Linked DNA regions of Homo sapiens: region 1 is linked to region 2. Evidence: promoter capture Hi-C in 16 types of primary human blood cells and fetal thymus (Javierre and others, 2016). All regions are on one chromosome and are shown on one strand. The core of a region is centred on a gene start or on the middle of the fragment in contact, and the rest is flanking DNA. Distances in the headings are between cores, read along the strand shown. Region 1 overlaps LOC100630923 (LOC100289561-PRKRIP1 readthrough). Region 2 holds the start of CUX1 (cut like homeobox 1).

Region 1 (3,609 bases), core at 1,110-3,609, 570 kb before region 2:
CTGGCCCCGAACTCCTGATCTCAGGTGATCCACCCGCCTCAGCTTCCCAAAGTGCTGGGATTACAGGCGTGAGCCACCTTGCCCAGCCTAATATTTTATTTATTTATTTATTTATTTATTTATTTATTTATTTATTTGGTAGAGCTGGAGTCTTGCTATGTTGCCCAGGCTATCATCCTGATTCTACTGAAATGGAACTGAGGCCCAGAGGAGAAAGCAATTGGCTCAGGGCCACACAGACTCAAACCCAGCAGTCTAGCCCTGGGTCTGTGACAGCCTGAGTGATTATGTGACTCACACAGATGGGACAGGGCCCCAGCAGACCCTGGCGGGAACCCTGGTGGCACCCTCCTAGGTGGCACCTTCCTGGTGGCACCTTCCTGGGGCTGAGGTCAGATTTGAGGTCCGGCTCCCTGGGATGAAAGGCCGCCTCACAGATGCCCACAAGTCTCACACCCAGGGTGATGTCCCTTCTGCCACCAGAGGGCAGCAAATCCCCACCCAGGTCCCGCCACTAGGAGCCTTAATCCACCTTTCCTGAGATCCAGAACTGGGCACCCAGGGAGCAAGGTCTACTGGCTGGAAGATACCAGTGCGTTGCAGACTGGCAGACTGGGTGCCACCTACCCTGGGCTTGCACAAGCAACCTAACCTCTCTAAGGCTGTTTCCTTATGTGCAAAATTGGTACAAGCGAATCTACCTTGTCGCTGGCACATGGGTAAAATGACGTTTGGACATGCAGTGTCCAGCAGAGCCTGACATTCAATAACATGGCTCACGCCTGTAATACCAGCACTTTGGGAGGCTGAGGCAGGTGGATGATCTGAGGTCAGGAGTTCGAGACCAGCCTGGCCAACATGGTGAAACTCCGTCTCTACTAAAAATACAAAAAAAATTAGCCGGGCGTGTGGGGTGGGGGGAGCTGCCTGTAATCCCACCTACTCGGGAGGCTGAGGCAGGAGAATTGCTTGAGCCCAGGAGGCGGAGGCTGTACTGAGCCAAAATCGCACCTCTGCACTCCAGCCTGGGAGACAGAGAGAGACTCTGTCTGAAAAAAAAAAAAAAAAATAGGTGACCACACTTGTCCTAGTTTGATCCTAGGACTGAAGGGTTTCCCAGAAAGTGGGACCTTCAGTGCTAAAACCAGGAGAATCTTGGGCAAGCCAGGATGGTTGATTACCCTAGACGAGTGGGTACTCCTATCTCAATTCTTTGAGTAGTGGTTGATACTTTAAGTACTAAAACAGCAGGGTTTTTTTTCTTTTTTCTTTTTTTCTTTTCTTTTCTTTTTTTTTTTGAGACAGAGTTTCACTCTCGTTACCCAGGCTGGTCTCAAACTAGAGAAATGAAAATATATGTCCACTGACTGACCTGTATGCAAATACAAACAGTAGCTTGATTCATAATTGCCAAAAACTGGAAACAACCCATATGTCCATCAAATTGAGATCTAGACCTACAGGGAAATACTACTTAGCAATAAAAGGAAGGAGCTTTTGCTGAGTGCGGTGGCTCATGACTGTAATCCCAGCACTTTAGGAGGCTGAAGAGGGAGGATCACTTGAGGCCGGGAGTTCAAGACCAGCCTGGCCAACAAGATGAAAGCCTATCTCTACTAAAAATACAAAAATTAGCTGGGCATGGTGGTGTGCACCTGTAATCTCAGGTACTTGGAAGGCTGAGGCAGGAGGATTGCTTGAACCCAGGAGGCGGAGGTTGCAGTGAGTCGGATTAAGAAGGTGGATTAAGATATCATACCACTGCACTCAGCCTGGGCGACAGTGAGACCCCATCTCAAAAAAAAAGGGGACCAGGTGTGGTGGCTCATGCCTGTAATCCCAGCACTTTTGGAGGCCGAGGCGGGCAGATCACGAGGTCAGGAGATCAAGACCATCCTGGCTAACAGGGTGAAACCCAGTCTCTACTAAAAATACAAAAAAATTAGCCAGGTGTGGTGGTGTGCACCAATAGTCCCAGCTATTCAGGAGGCTGAGGCAGGAGAATGGCGTGAACCCGGGAGGCGGAGCTTGCAGTGAGCCGAGCTCGTGCCACTGCACTCCAGCCTGGGCGACAGAGTGAGACTCCATCTCAAAAAAAAAAAAAAGAAAAAGAAAAAAGAAAAAGGAAGGAAGGACCTCTTGAGGCTTGCAATAACGTGGATGGATCTCAGATGCATTATGTTTAGTGAGTGAAGTCAGATCTATTAATAGAAGGCCACAACCTGAATGGTTCCATTTACTTGATGTTCTGGAAAAGCCAAAATGATAGGGATGGAAAACAGATCAGCAGTTGCCATGGGCCAAGTAGGAGGACGGGACTGACCTGGGAGGGCCTCAGGGAACTTTCTTGGGTAATAGATATTTTTTCCCCTCCCTCCCTCCCTCCCTCCCTTCCTCCCTTCCTACCTTCTTTCCTTCTTTTGAGATGGTGTCTCACTCTGTTGCCTAGACTGGAGCGCAGTGGCGTGACCATAGCCCATTGCAGCCTCAAACTCCTGGGCTTCAGTGATCCTCCTGCCACAGCCTCCTGAATAGCTGGGACTATTGGTGCACACCACCACACCTGGCTATTTTTACTTTATTATTATTATTATTTTTGTAGAGATGATGTCTTGCTGTATTGCCCAGGCTGGTCTCAAACTCCTGGCTTCCAGTGATCCTTCTATCCCCAGAATCCCAAAGCACTGGGATTATAGGCATGATCCACTGCACCTGGCCTCTCTGCATAATATTTGGATGACAAAAATGTTCTATATCTGAATTGTGGTGGCAGCTACACAACCATCCACATTTATCAAACTTATTTAACCATATACTTCTATTTATTTATTCATAGACAGAGTTTCACTCTGTCGCCCACACTGGAGTGCAGTGTCTCGATCTCTGCTCACTGTAACTTCTGCCTCTCAGCCTCAAGCAATCCTCCCATCTCAGCTTCCCGAGTAGCTGGGACTACAGGCACGCACCACCATGTGCAGCTAATTTTTGTATTTTTTGGTTTTGTTTTTTTGTAGAGATGGGGGTCTCACTATGTTGCCCAAGCTGGTCTCAAACCAGAGTCCTGGGATTACAGGTGTGAGCCACTGTGCCTGGACTTGAACCATATACTTTAAAAGGGTGGATTTAATCATATGAACATTGTACCTCAATAAACTTGACCTAATTTACAGTGTGGATTTGCCAGGTTGCAGGGGAGCTAACCCTCCATTGTCTGAGTTGCTTTCGTGAGGAGTTCAGCCTTTAGCTCCTTGTGCCCTCTGAGGCAGCTCGGGCCTGTAAATCTGCCCTGCTCACCATAAGGCCAAGGCTTGGGGTGACAGGTTTTTGAAAACCCAGAGGCCAATGTGGTTGAAGCCCCCACACTTCTTTTTATTTATTGGTTTACTTATTATTATTATTTTTGAGACAGAGTCTCGCTGTGTCATCCAGGCTGGAGGGCAGTGGGGCAATCATAACTCACTGCAGCCTCAACCTCCTGGGCTCAAGTGAACCTCCCAACTCAGCCTCCTGAGTAGCTGGGACTACAGGAGCACATCACCACGCCTGGCTAATTTTTATTTTATTTTATTTTATTTATTTTTTTGAGACGGAGTCTCGCTGTCGCCCAGG
Region 2 (3,884 bases), core at 1,327-3,826:
TTCTACTTCTAGTCTTGTGTTCTCTCCTAAGACACAGAAAGTGAGTACAGCCTCAGGAGTGGTTTTGATTGTTTACTGCTACAGGTAGACCCAGAAGGGAATCAGAGAGCACAAACTACTGTTCCTTCACAGCTCCCATATAAACCCTGATGGGTTTGTCTTAATTGTACAAAAACAGGAGACTTTTTAAATAGCCATTAAAGGTTTCAGGCTCAGCACAGTTCACCAGACTGCATTTTTAAGGTTAGCTCAGTGGATTTAGGAGAGAATCATTCCTGAAGGTATTGGACTATTTGGCCCTTTCAGCTTTCTTAGGTTGGCTAACTACCGACAGAAGATACACGAAGCCGAGGATGTAGTCAAAGGGCTCTCTGTGGACTCAACTGTACCAGGAGTTGTTGCATTAACTCACCACTTGCACCTTTAAGGAAAAAAAGAGTTTCACATAGGAAAAAACTTAAATCAACTGCCAATGACCCCTTCCCACATCCAACCTCAAAGACACCCATATTAAAAGAACCAAGAAAACAAAAGCAGGAGCAGCAGTGGTGTAATTTCTTGAACTGCTCTTTTATAAAGGGTACTAGATGGGACATTTTAATTAAAATAATATACTTATTATGGCAAACAGTACTGGACAGCCAGTAACATACACACTTCCACAACAGGGGGAAAAAAAGCCATCAGAAAATGGACTTTCAGCAAAACTGAAATTGTTTTTTGATTCTGAAAAAGAAGGCAACTTTTCAAGTTTACTTTTGCAGAAGCTGCTTAAAGGGGAAGGCTGGTCACCATGTGGGAATAATGTCCCAAAGGGAAGGCAGTCATTGGCGGGCCCCGTCCCAAAGAGTTCAAAGCTCCACTAACATACAGAGTGCCATGAGCTTTGTCTTAGAAAGTGTCCTCCTTTCAAATATGTATTTAAAAGACAAATTTATACAACAGTGCTTTTCTTATTTAAAAAGAAAAGAAAACCTGGTTTTTACAAGTCTGAGATAGGATAAAAAACTTGTCCAACTAGTCTTAGCAATACCAAAGCACTGAAACTTCCATACCACAAGCCTTTGGGACTAAAAAGGAAACGGAATAAAACACAATCTTCAGAAATTCTCTTCCTGAGCACACACTCCTGTGCCAAGGCAGCAGCTTCAAGACCCAGGAAGCCGAGGGACAAGAACCCAGTGAGCCAGGGTTGCAGAACTGCGGAACGGCCCAACCTCACCTGGACCCGCTGACGTCTCCAACCTGGATTTCTCTCTGCAAAGACCGATCAGCCTCTTTACCCCCAGGTGGCAACCCAATCTCAGTATAAAGAGGTCTGGAAAAATGAGAAAAATCTGGAACTAATGAATTCTCTCCCAAACTCGTTCTATTGACTCACTGACTATCGGTGGGAATTAACCAGACACCAACTCCAAAGGCCTCCTCACCGCCCAGAGAAAGAACCAGATTGGCCTGAGACTTGAACTTTGACATTCCGTATTCGACTAAAGTTTGCAAACCCATAGGAAATCATCTAAGGCCAAATCGTTAGCAACCACCAAAAGCAAAGGAGTAAAGAGGAATGAAGTTCAAATAAGGGACTTTGTTTTGGGGTTTGGTTTTGATTTCTTCTTAATATCCACATAAAGTGCAAGTAAACTGACATGGAAACTTTCGATGGAACCCTGGAGCCCTGATCCCCTGAAGAAGTAGCTAATATGGGGGACAGGAAGGTTTAGAGTTCTTAAAATCTAGTAACTCTAGAAACCAAATCCATTTTCCAGGCAATTTTGCCAGGATGCTTTAAAAAAGACACTTCATTGATATTAAGCTAGGATGTCACATTTAGGAAGACAAGAGAGAAAAATAATAATAATGTTTGTCCTTAAAACTCCACAACGGGTTTTACAGTAAGCACAGGAATTAAATTATGGTAAAAGGGAGCTATTTTTACTAAAACAGGGTAGACCAATTTATCAAAAATGCCATTCGGCTGTGTTCATTACATCCAGGAATCTAATTTACACAATAGACACTTTGGAGTAATCTATTTTAGTCAATAAATACTTAAACTCCTTTAAGTTTTAATCTTATCGGAAATACATATTTCGCATAGTCTTCTTCCTAGTTAAGCGAGAAATTTCAGGAAATTTCATAACGACTATGACTCGGCTTTATCGTTCTTAGTAGGCAAGAGCAGAAAACAAGCATATACAATTAAAGTTGTCAGATTCCATTTAAATATGTTTTAATCCAACCCGCTTCGTTTGATACAAGCCTGCATCTCGAGCTTTGCTCCCAAAGGTATTGCGGTAGGTCACTGTCACCAGTCCTCCAGGTTAGGAAAGTTCAGCCAAGTTTATCTTCACGCACACCTTAGCAGTTGGGAGTAGCTGCAGTTCCCCAGGGGCCCTGAGGAACCCTCCTATCCCCTCCCAGAGCACCAGGCCGCCCTAGAGCATTCTAAGCCGCGGGACCCGGGCACCCCCCGACATCCCCGGTTCCCTCCGCGCCTGCAACCTCGGGACTTCTGGCCCACACGCCGCTCACCTTCAACCTGGCTCCGGCTACGCACAACATCCACCTGGCAGAGTCCCGGGGCTGTCCCGGCGCCGCGGGCGCCGAGCTGGCACGTGCGGGGCGGACCCTAAGGGTGCGCCGCTCCTCCGGGCGGGGGGTGGCAGGCAGGCACTCGCCCCTTGGGCACGGCGGCGACTCGGGCGCGGGCCGGGGAGCCCCGGCACGGTCCCCCCGCGGCGCCGGGGACTCCGCGCGCGGACCACCGCCCGGCATGCCACGGTCCCAACGGGCCCCCGGGGCTCTGCTTTCGAGAACCCGGCCCGAGAAGGCATCTCCGAGCGCACCCGCCGCGCGCTCCATGGCGGGCCCTGCAGAGAGGGCAGAAGCCCCGAGGGGACGCAAGGAAGGGACCCGGCGCCGCAGGTCACCGGGGGCCGCCGGAGCCCCCAGGCGCGCGGCGATCGCGGCTCGGACCGGCGGCGGGGAGGCAGCGTACACTGCCCGGGCACCCGGGGGAACAGCTTGGGGCCTGCCTAGGGGAAAGTTGCAGCCTCCTCCTCCCGCGCCCGCACCCGGCGGTCCGGGACACCGGGACCCAGCGACACTGCGCGCGGGGCACCCCCGCCGCCCCTCGCCAAGTTTCCCCAAAGAGCCCCCGCGGGGGTCCGCCACGGAGGAACAGGTCCGCGTCACCGACACAGGCACACAAAAGAGCGCGGCGGCCGCGAGGTGCGCGGGTGGCCCCGGGGCGCTCCCCGGGACGTAAACAAACCCGGGGGTCCGCGCCGGGAGCCACACGCGGGGTGCCGGAGCGGCGGCGCGGCCCGGGCCGGTGACAGCCGGGGGCGGCGGCCGGGGCCGGCCGGGGGTAGCGAGCGCGGGCGCCTGCCCGGCCACCCGCCCGCCTGGCCGGAGCCGGGCCGCGCCGCCGCCGCCGCCGCCGGTGGCCGCTCTGACCCTCCCCCGAGCCGGCGGCACCACAGCGCCACCAGCCCCAGCTCCGCCGCGCCGGCGGCAGTGGCGGCGGCTCCTCCTGGAGAGGCAGGCGCTTCACCCCCCGCAGCAACTCCCCACAAACTTTCCCCGGGAATACGGCGGGCCGGGGGCGCGGGGCGAGCGGGCGGGCGGGCGCCACCGCCGGGCCGCGGCCCCCTCCCGGCGCCCGCCGCCGCCCGCCCCCCGCCGCCCGCTCCCCGCTCCCCGCTCGCGCGCGCACCCCGCGGGCCGCCGGGGCCGCCCCCTCCCCGGTCCCGCGGCGGCAACGGCGGCGGCGGCGCTGGCGGCGGCGGCGGCGCGGGGCCCGGGGGGGCGCCCGGGGTGGGGGCAGACACCGGGGGCAGTGGTGGCGGCGGCGGCTCCCGGCGCCATCTTGGGCTGATCGA

The links. The method cuts DNA at HindIII sites, captures the fragments that hold promoters and counts their contacts. A CHiCAGO score of 5 or more calls a contact.
Region 1: a fragment that was not itself captured here is called in contact with the fragment with the promoter of CUX1 in region 2 in 1 of 17 cell types (neutrophils); the score reaches 8.3 in neutrophils.

Annotation. Positions count from the first base shown.
Region 1 is chr7:102,387,795-102,391,403 of GRCh38, reverse strand. The region is part of intron 4 of LOC100630923 (LOC100289561-PRKRIP1 readthrough); the gene reads right to left. Among named protein-coding and RNA genes, the nearest start is that of PRKRIP1, 6.8 kb to the left of the region's middle. The HindIII fragment of the contact is 9,075 bases long and covers 1-3,609 here.
Region 2 is chr7:101,816,318-101,820,201 of GRCh38, reverse strand. It overlaps CUX1 (cut like homeobox 1), which reads right to left and starts at 2,576. Exons shown (of 24, transcript NM_181552.4): 1 at 2,533-2,576. The coding sequence starts at 2,562. RefSeq lists silencers at 2,627-2,676, 2,727-2,796, 2,827-2,906, 2,977-3,296, 3,407-3,566 and an enhancer at 3,392-3,884. The HindIII fragment of the contact is 10,531 bases long and covers 1-3,884 here.